3 separate regions of the Homo sapiens genome follow, and regions 2 and 3 are each linked to region 1. Evidence: promoter capture Hi-C in human tissues and cell types (Jung and others, 2019). All regions are on one chromosome and are shown on one strand. Each heading gives the region's core, a stretch centred on a gene start or on the middle of the fragment in contact. The rest is flanking DNA. Distances are from core to core; before and after follow the strand shown. Region 1 holds the start of ROBO1 (roundabout guidance receptor 1). Region 2 has its middle 160 kb from the start of ROBO1. Region 3 has its middle 140 kb from the start of ROBO1.

The links. Contacts are between HindIII fragments. The study calls those that stand out against the background at their distance.
Region 2: a contact is called between a fragment that was not itself captured here and the fragment with the promoter of ROBO1 in region 1, in 2 of the 25 tissues and cell types used here (dorsolateral prefrontal cortex and pancreas).
Region 3: a contact is called between a fragment that was not itself captured here and the fragment with the promoter of ROBO1 in region 1, in 2 of the 25 tissues and cell types used here (aorta and hippocampus).

The regions. Positions count from the first base shown.
Region 1 is chr3:79,766,339-79,769,686 of GRCh38, forward strand. It overlaps ROBO1 (roundabout guidance receptor 1), which reads right to left and starts at 1,660. Exons shown (of 31, transcript NM_002941.4): 1 at 1,414-1,660. The HindIII fragment of the contact is 15,501 bases long and covers 1-3,348 here.
Region 2 is chr3:79,927,204-79,930,551 of GRCh38, forward strand. No RefSeq gene overlaps it. Among named protein-coding and RNA genes, the nearest start is that of ROBO1, 160 kb to the left of the region's middle. The HindIII fragment of the contact is 4,280 bases long and covers 1-3,348 here.
Region 3 is chr3:79,904,585-79,907,932 of GRCh38, forward strand. No RefSeq gene overlaps it. Among named protein-coding and RNA genes, the nearest start is that of ROBO1, 140 kb to the left of the region's middle. The HindIII fragment of the contact is 3,244 bases long and covers 1-3,154 here.

The DNA of each region.
Region 1 (3,348 bases), core at 410-2,909:
CTCTAGATGCTTGGGGTGCACACTAAGGATATTTGAGTAGTGGGAGCTCCGACTCGAGGCAGGAGTGGGATGTCTTAGCATTCCGTCTCCCCCACCCCACCCATCTGCGTGGGACACAGTGACTCCTAGAAGGGTATCCCAGGATTTTAGCGGCCAGGTGTGAGCGCCCTCCACGCGGTCCTCCGAGACCTCAGGGCGCGTGGCAACTGGGCAGAAGCCGTCTCTGCAGCGCCGCTGCCCCGGGTGGAGCGGCAGCCCAGGCTGCAGCAGTGGGGTTGCCACGCCGAGTTTTCCGCATCGGCCGCCCGCAGGGCTCGCCTGCTTCTCCCCATTGTGTTCTCAGAGCTGTGGGACCCAGCCGCGCGCGCAGCCGCACCCGCGCCAACGCTGGAACCGAAGGCTCATGGAAGCGGGGCTGGCAAGATGGGGCAGGGAGAAGGAGCAAGAAGGGGCCCCAGAAGGGCACGGCGTTTCATCAATAATGCAGAGGCTCCTGGACCTCCCTGCAATACGTTTTCCAGCTAAACGCCACCAACTGGAGCGCTTCCTGGTTCGTCCCACTCGTGTGGTTTTTGTGTGTGAAAGATGGGACGCACCTTTTTCATTCATCTGTCTTCTCTCATTCTTCCTCCTTCCCTCCCTCATTTCCTCCCTCAAAGTCCCCGCTGGCTTAGCTTTAAGCTCTCGTCTTCACATCAGCACCATGTTTTCAAGCAAAATCCTGCAGGTTGGAAATGCAAGTGTCAAAAGTCCCCACTGCCTACATACCGCCAAGAGTTTACCAAAATCCACCTAGTAACGCTTATTTTCAAAGCCCCCACGCGCATCCATTCCTGGAGAATGCTTTCAAAGTTTGGAAGCTCCCTGCAGCCTGCCCGTGTCTATGCCTCAGTCAGCTCACATCACGAACAACGGTGCGGTCAGCGGCACTGAGATTAGGCTGCAAAGTTGCCCGGCCCCAGCCCACTACACCGCTGATGCTCGCCGCATCCCTAGAGCAAATTCCGCTGTGTGCCCCCAAGAAGCCAAAAGCGGCACGAAACCTACTCCAACAAGGGTTAGCCCAGCCACACACACAACAAACAAATTCCAAAACTTCTTTGTTAAGCAGCCGCAGCCTACCTGGAACGGACACTCTGCACAACTGGCAAGGAAGAAACAAACATCGCATCCCTGCAGGAAAACTTGTTGAATCCCTCCCGATCGCAAGGCTGCAATTTCCGATTTAGCCTGAAGGTTTTTGATTCTACCCCAAAACACCCTGGCGCATCAGCCACAATTTCTGGATAAACTGCAGAGTCCTCTCGGCAACCATTCTGCACTCCAACAACCACTAGTGTAAAACCCAGCGTGTCCCCTTTTACAAATCAAAAGCCAGCTGTCACTTCCCTTGCAACCATTTCCGAGACTTACCCTTCCATAAGACTGTTTTCAGCAATCTAGAGGCTCCGTAGTGCAGACGCAGCCCTGCAACTTTGCTGTGCACTGAGACCTTTCCGAGTTTAAACCAAGCGAAAGGTGACAGACTTTTAAACCTAAGAGTGGGGAAATAGGGAGAGAGTGAAGTCGGGTTTCTTCTCTGTATCAGCACCCTGGAAAAATTCAATCCTTCTTCAGTAGAGAATTCTTTCAAACCCGTTATCTGTATTACTATTAATGCGCAGAGCAGAAGGCATTGCATACAAATAGGTCCAAGTGTGCGCTTCTATTGGTGGCTGCGGAGGCCCCTGGGTCCTACTGCTCCGGTCTAAACTACACAGCAACACTAGGCACGCAGCTTTGGAGACGCCGAGGGGAAAATGGATTTAATTGATTCGTTACCTCTGGTATTGTAATGCCTGCTGCGATGTTTAACCGAGGGGGGAGGAAAAAAAAAAAAAAAAACCCTTACATTTAACTCCTGTCATGTGATCTATCATTCCATAGCTGCTTTTAATTGTCTGTGTGGAGTGGCTTTGATCATACAAAGGATTTTAAAAGAACATTTTCGAAGGAAAATTCACACAGACACTTTTGGCAGGAAAACCCTCTTTTGCTCTCTATTATGCATTATTCTCATATAAATCCAGGAAATTTTATATAATCAAATACTTCTGCACTTCACGTAGGTACACACAACACCCAATTGTATTTACAATTCATAGCTACTACAAATAAAATACCTTACATGGGTAGTAGATAGTAGAAGCTAAAATATGAGTCTACCAATTATAAAACACGGGTTATATTAGTCAAATGCTACAGAAAAAATTCCATCAATGACAATGGCGTCAGCATCATTTTTACTTCGCAAAATTAGAAATTCAAAAATATTTTCCTTGTAAATATTGACATAAAGATATAAATCAACATAAAGGTATTATAATGTCACAGTATGTCAAGCATTTACTATTAATTGCTACATTATCTTTTTACAGTTTCTCTCTTAGCAAGTTCATTAGTAATGCAAATTGGCATAACAAGGAGATTTAAAGTGAGGCCGACCTGTGGTGACTAGCAATTTGAAATATTGTAATAGTGTGCAAAATCACTTTAGTTCATCATCGGTAAAGCCAGTTATTTTAAGAATTAGAATATTAAATGCTGAATCTTAATATATATTAATTTGAAGTCTTAAACATGCTGTTTTCTTTGACCTTTAATTTTGTGGAGGAAAAGAGAAATCCTTATTTAAACTAAAATGACATAGACTTTCCACAAAATCCTAGATACGATATTTACTGATATTATAATTTAGGAAGTAACATAATTTTATTGTCTTTGATGTAAATAATTGTGATAAATTCCAATTTAATTACAAAATTATTACATATATGTAATGTACAACTGAATGAACATTGTTGGAAAGGGCCACTCTGGATAAGGTTAACATCAACCAACCTATAAATTCACTACCTATGTGTAAACTAAATAAATGAAAACACAATGCAAAAATACAACAGACTCGAGATCTTATTCCAAATACATGTAAAGCATTTGAATTTATGTAGTGTGTGCTACAATCCCTCTTCATTTCCGTAACTCTTTCCCTTTACAGCCCCTTCCCTTCCCCCAATCAGTAACCCTTGACAACAGAAGTGTTAACTTCAAGTCCAGGTTGCCTTTGCTGCCTTCCAGACCTAACTTACAGATTGCATCCTTGTAGGAAACAGAGTTAACTCTTACACGACTGAGAGGTGAAAGAAGAGAGTTTCTTTCAGGGATTAGAAAATCCAGTATTTTTATGTGTATTTGCAAAGTTTGCACCAAACACATATTTTTAAAAATATCCATGATCACTAATTCAGAGTGAAAAGATGTGATCATTGGCATTGTATCAGAGTCAATTTGCTGTATATATCCATTGCT
Region 2 (3,348 bases), core at 469-2,968, 160 kb after region 1:
TTAAACATTTGACTAATAAAAAATGTGCATTCAAATTATTACTTTTTGGCATATTTGAATGTATTAATTGTACTTATTGGCTTTTTTTTGTTTTTGCACATCTTCAGTGTTGCAAGTTTTTAGGTATTTTAAAAATTATACATTCTGTTACTTAAAGAAAACCTAGAAGCTCTTTTAAGATAGAAAACTTCTTCTTTCACTGGCATCTTTCTTTTTGTCCCAGTTCCATGGTGTCAGCATGTAGTCTTAAATATTGGCCACAATCTGATATTTTTACACATTAGTTTTTCTTTAGTGAAACAAAAGTAAAATTGCCTCAATGCTTTCCCACATTCTCCAACAATGCTTGTAAAGTGTACATTGACTATGGACATGTCCTTATACTTGGAGGTTAAGTATTTTAGAAAAGTGGAAGTGACAATGAGTCCATGAAAAAAATGAGTTAGAATTGTTAGAATTTTATTTTATTTATTTTTTTAGATTTTATTTATTTTAAGTTCTGGGGTACATGTGCAGGATGTGCAAATTTGTTACATAGGTAAACATGTGCCGTGGTTGTTTGCTGCACCCATCAACCCCTCACCAAGGTGGTAAGTCCTGCATGCATTACATAGATTTCCTGATGTTCTTTCTCCTCCCACCCCCACACAGGCCCCAGTGTGTGTTGTTCCCTCCCTGTGTCTATGTGTTCACATTGTGCAGCTCCTACTTACAAGAGAGAACATGCAGTGTTCGGTTTTCTGTTCCTGCTTTAGTTTGGTGAGAATAATGGCTTCCATCTCCATCCATGTCCATGCAAAGGACATGATCTCGTTCCTTTTATGGCTGCATAGTATTCCATGGTGTATATGTACCACATATTCTTTATCCAGTCTATCATTGAACATGTGCCTGAGGTCCCAGCTGCTTGGGAGGCTGAGATGGGAAGATCCCTTGAGCTCAGGAAGTTGAGAGTGCAGTGAGCCTTAAACAGGCCACTGCACTCCAGCCTGGGTAATAGAGTGAGATCCTGTCTTAAAAAAATGAATAAATAAAGTAAAAAAAAAAGAGGAAGAAAGTATTTGCTTAGGGTACCTCAATTGTTTCCTATTGTCCTGAGAATGTTAAGTCATTAAAAAATAGCAATGATTCACTATTATTGAGTTTAGATTAATGTTAATGATGTTATGGCTATAAAAACAATATCACTCAACTGTATTAATTATATTATGCATAAAGTGTAATCCAATGAACTCTCTAAAATAAAGATTGACCCTCAACTTCAAGATCAAAATTATCTTCCTTCCTTTATTCTGCCTACCCTACTTCCGCTTTCAAATGTGCATAATTTTTTACCAACAGTAATTTGAATTTTGTGGTCAAATGCATTCACTCAATTCTTTCAAAGTAGTCAAATTTGCTTAGATTTTATTCTCTCATCCCAAATTAAAAATTTTTTAGAGTTCTTATTTGCTACACTTCAAAATGTCTGGTTTTCAAAATATTGTGTCAATGGATTCTCAAAATCTATTTTACATATACATATGCCATATGTCCATTTATGTATATATCTGACCAAATTTGATTGTTCCAGTTGTACAATTTAAAAAATATATAACTCATTTTGATGCCTGTGACGACCTGTCTGGAGTGGCCACTGTGAGGGTGTCAGCTGTAGCAGAGGAGGCACAGCTGGGGCTGTGTGCTTCACGGTCCAGTGAGAGCCAAGAAAAAGTGAGAGCCCCACACCCTACCAGGTTGGTGGGGCAGGAGCCTGTGATCTTGGGCATAGCTGCAGCCACCCAGCCACAGCTCCAGACCCCAGCATCCCTGTGCTCTCAGGGGCTCAGGAAGCCCCTTGCCCCTGCAGGTTTGGAACTACCTGCTCCTGTTCCCTGGCCTCTCCCCACTCCCACTCCCCACTGCTTTGGGGTGGAGCCAAGTTGTGGCTGAACCTGGGTTCTGTCACAACACACCCAGGTGTGAGTGCACTCAGGATGGTGCCACCTTGGCCACCTCCACACTTTGGGCACTGATGAGCACAGGAAGGAGGCTGAGGGAGTGCTGAGGGTGGCTCAGTGTGGGCCTGCAAGCACCCTTCAGCATGAACAGCCTGAGTGTCATGGAAGGAGGCTGAGGGGTGGCTCAGGGTGAGCGTGCAAGCACTGCTCAGCATGAACAGTCTGGGTGTCATGGAAGGAGGCTGAGGGGGTGCTGAGAGCGGCTCAGTGTGGGCCTGAAAGCACATCTAGGCATGAACAGCCTGGGTGCTGTGGATGGCATTTTGATGGCAGCAGGAGGTAGACGGGCCCCTGGGCAGAAAAAGGCAGGTCCCTGGTGAAACCCTACCTTCAAGCCAGGGATGGCCTGAAGCCTAGAGGCCAGGCTGCCAGTTCTCCTTGGAGTCCATGGCACAGAGTGAGAGCTTATGGTGCTTTTTCCAGGCCCCCTCATGGCCACCCCTTGACCAATCAGTATGCATTTCCTCCCTTCAGAGCCCATAAAAACCCAGACTCAGCTAGACTCAGACAGACATTGGGACTACCAGCTGTGGGAAGGAGCTACCCACTTTGAGTCTCCACGACTGGAGATGACCTGCCTTTGGAAAGGAGCTACCTGCTAAATGTTTCCTCTCCACTGAGAGCTGGAAAGCTTTTTGGGACAACCTGCCTGTTGAAAGGAGCTACCCACTGTGGGTCTCCTGAGAGCTGTTTTGTTGCTCACTGAAGCTCCTATTTGCCTTGCTCACCTATCAGTTGCCTGCGTACTTCATTCTTCCAGGACGCAGGACAAGAACTTGGGACCAACCAAATGGATGGAATGAAAGAACTGTAACACAAACAGGGCTGAAACACTCTCTCCCACTCACCATGTTGTGGGCGAGGAGAAGGAGAGAAGCGATGTGGCCCTTTGGGGAGCCCATACTTAGGGGCTCCCTATACCAGGGCCATGACACCCTCTTTGGGGCTCTGCAGTTCCTGGTGTCTCCATGCCTCCAGGTGCCAAAGAGTTTCCCTCATCCAGATGCAGGTGCCCACAGCAGAAGCCGCATGCAGAACATCTGGTCCAGCCACAGCCTCACTCAGAGCCAGCACCTGTGCCAGCACCTGGAACTGCCCGCCCTACCACAGCAGCCAGCATGCCTGGCTGTGCCCTGTGGCTGGACCCCACACTCGCTAGCCCACACATCCCTCACTGCTCCACGCCTGGCTCGCCCTTGGCAGGTGTGTGATCCAGGCCGGTAGTGCAGGCTGAGTGCTGACTGCCAAGCCAAGTGGGTGGAATGAGCCCAGCAGGTGTGACCAATACTCAGGCGGAAGACACTCCTGGCCACAGAGGTTTCTGGCTGGTAAAGCGACACCCCAATTA
Region 3 (3,348 bases), core at 283-2,782, 140 kb after region 1:
TTATAACAGAATTATTTTATATAGGCAGATAATAAATGGGTTTGCACACATATTCATAAACTCATAGCAAGTCTATTTGCTCTTAAAGATACTTTATAAAAAACCTATATAACAAGAATGATATATTCAAATATTTTTCAAATGGCTTTCAAATATTTTAATGTGAACTTTTGAAATAATTTAGTGTATTTCTCTTCATTTAAATGTTTAAGCTTGCAAAACCTTTACAAATAAGAGAGATTGTTACTTTTTGAAAAATATGACTCATGGTCAAGCGTATATTATTAAAAGTAAGAACACCCAACTTTGCAGCTTGTCTAATCAAGTGCGTGGTTACTGGCTAACCCTGTCTTTGGCTTGAGTACACCACCTAAAGGCTTTCAATTTCATCTCCCAAGTTCCCTTAAAGGCCTTCCAGTTAGAAGAAGTTTCTTTTAATTTTTATTTTTTCATTATTATACTTTAAGTTCTAGGCTGAGCAAAGTATCCCAAGGACAGAAAACCAAACACTGCATGTTCTCACTCATAGGTGGGAATTGAACAATGAGAACACTTGGACACAGCATGGGGAACATCACACACCGGGGCCTGTCGCGGTTAATTCCTAAGTGAAACCAGGAAACACCGCATTTACTTTTCTCAAAAATACCTTGCTCTTTTTTATTAGCTTTGGTGTTCGCTCATGTCTCTTCTTTATGGAATTCATTTTACTGCACATTTTGGTGGTAGCTAACACCACCTCTTCCTTCAAGATGCAAAGAAGCACTTCTACAATGCCAGATTAACTACCCCTCTCATTTACAGGCTCCTGGGATAAATCCATTGCTCCCACTCCATCGCTCTTCACCAAGCCATGCTGCACTTGACTGCTCACTCACATACTGCCTAGATACCTCCTGCTTTGCACGCATATTCATTCTTAAGCCATTGTGTATGTTCTAAGTTTTCATCGTTTCTTCCCAAATACACTGAATATATAACAAATGAATCTTAATCATATTCTTCAAATATGATAAAAATAGTTATATCTTGTATTATTATAGATATACTCATTAACTAAAAATTATTCTCTCTGTTTAATTTTCAGTTCCATTAAAGATTTAAAGGTATCACAATAGACACCCAGGGCTCTCTGCAATCTAGTGCTTTTCCTAGTTTTCAATTTATGAAGCTTGCTGGATTTAAGACAAAGATTTTACCTGTCAGAGATAAGATATGGAACATAAACATAAAACCAATGCAGTAAATTTTCATAAAGCTTAATTCATTCTAAAAATACTTAAGATTATTTTCTCTGTAAATTTGTAGGTTGCTATTACTTTATTAAAAAAAGCTCGACACAGAAAAAAAGATGATAGTTTTCCAATGATTTTTACTTGGAAAGAGAAAATAAAATAACATTGAGAAACAAAACAGCCTTCATCTGTGGAGCATTCCAATTTTTGTTCTTGTTGCTGTCGAAATATCCCTGGCCCCTGATTTCCAGCCCTGAGAAGGGTTTTTCTGGAGCAGATGCTAAATTTTACTCCTGGAGATGAATTTTTGTGGATCCAATCGCAGGCAATATATCTAAAGCATTTGTTTAGAAGTAGATCTCTAAGTGATAAATACATGAACGTGACTAGGAAAAAATACCTTTCAAATAATTTGCACTGTGTAGAGTTGTAATATGAATCTTGTTTTCAAAATAAAACAGCAGTATCTTTTTCGCTCAAAATGAGTAATCTGTAGCCTTGAGGTTTATGTGAGGCAAGCTTGCATTCCAACACTATTCCTTGACTGAGGTCTCAGAAGTCCACTAGAGCCTTCCTAGCATTTGCATTAGACACGTTTGTGCCTTGCAGCCACTCAGGAGCTCAGTGAGAGAAAAGACATTATGATTATATGTTGGAGGAATAAAAAAGTAATATGAAGGATGGAAAAATACTCCGTAGATCCTAAGATAATACAAAGGAAAAGAAAATCCGTTTTCAAATATTAAGTAGCAAATTCAAGGAATATACAACTAAAAGTCATGTTGCACCATTTACGTTTTGCAATTAAAATGTTATTACCCTTTCTAAATTAAGATTTCTTTAATTATCATTCAGAACCAGGAATCCTTATATTTCATATTACAGAAGAGCAGTTTGTTCACTAAGATTGAGAGGAAATTGTAAGACATTTTTGAAGTAGTTCAACATACTGATATGTCTGGAAATTCACTAATGACTTATTTCAATTGATTTAGCTATCACTTCCTAACTATAAAATTATTGCTATGGCTAGATATTTAAGTTGAAGAGGGAAAACTTTGAAGAAAATTATTACCACTTAATATATAATATGATTTTTAAAGCCCAAAACCAAAGTATGGTTAAGGCAATATGTCTAATGTGCAGGAACTGAATTTACAGATTTAAGCCAATTAAATGCTTTTCTTAATTAAGTGTCAGGCAAAAGCAATGCACAGAACTTTTTCTTTAATTTAAAAACATCTTGATACCTCTAACAGTAAATATTTGTTGATTGATCTTAAAGTAATTTTAAAAATATTATTTCTTAGCACCATTATCATTATGACATTGTAAATAACTTGTTCCAGGTTTTAATTTTATTTACAGCTCTAATAAACATACTTTTAAATAAGTCATCCTGGGATATGTGCTTTGATCTAGGGCTGTGGCATTTATTCACATGTCTTCATTTAGTGCTCACAGTCTTTTTGCTATTTTTGTGCCTCCATCATCTCCAATCAAAGAGATTATTATAGCGTTGCTTCTTCAATTTCCAGCATCTGGGTTGCCTGATACCACTTTTTTTTTTTTTTTGGTAGAAACCAAAGTAATGAGGAGAAAAGTCCTCAAGATAGATTTACATCCTACAAGAATCATTTCATCTTATCAAAAACAGACTCTTTTTCCAATCCTTGCCTCCCTTCTGATAATTTCTTTTCCTCTGATGAATAGCTACTGGGGTGGATTAGAGGCAGCCAGTTATTTAAATGTAATAGTTTTTCTCCAATTTCTTCAGATTCCTATGGGCAACCCACAATTTATCTTAAGTCAAGAATTTTTTTTTTTTAATTTAACTCTCCACGTGGTGCTTTTGCTAATTATATCGTCCCTTGTCAATTCCCTCAAGGGGCTAACAGTCTAAGAAAAATAGAATATGAATTTTAGTAAAAAAAATTCAAACGTTATTTAATAAGGATAGAAATGTAAAAAGAATTTTAGGACAGAGTTAAGTTCATAATAAAGAGTTAAAAATGTTAACTAAGGAGAATTAGTCCCTGGACACAAAAGAATTTGCTTCTTTTTAACATTGGTAAGACATTTTTGTATTAGAGATTTTTTTTTTCTCTTTATA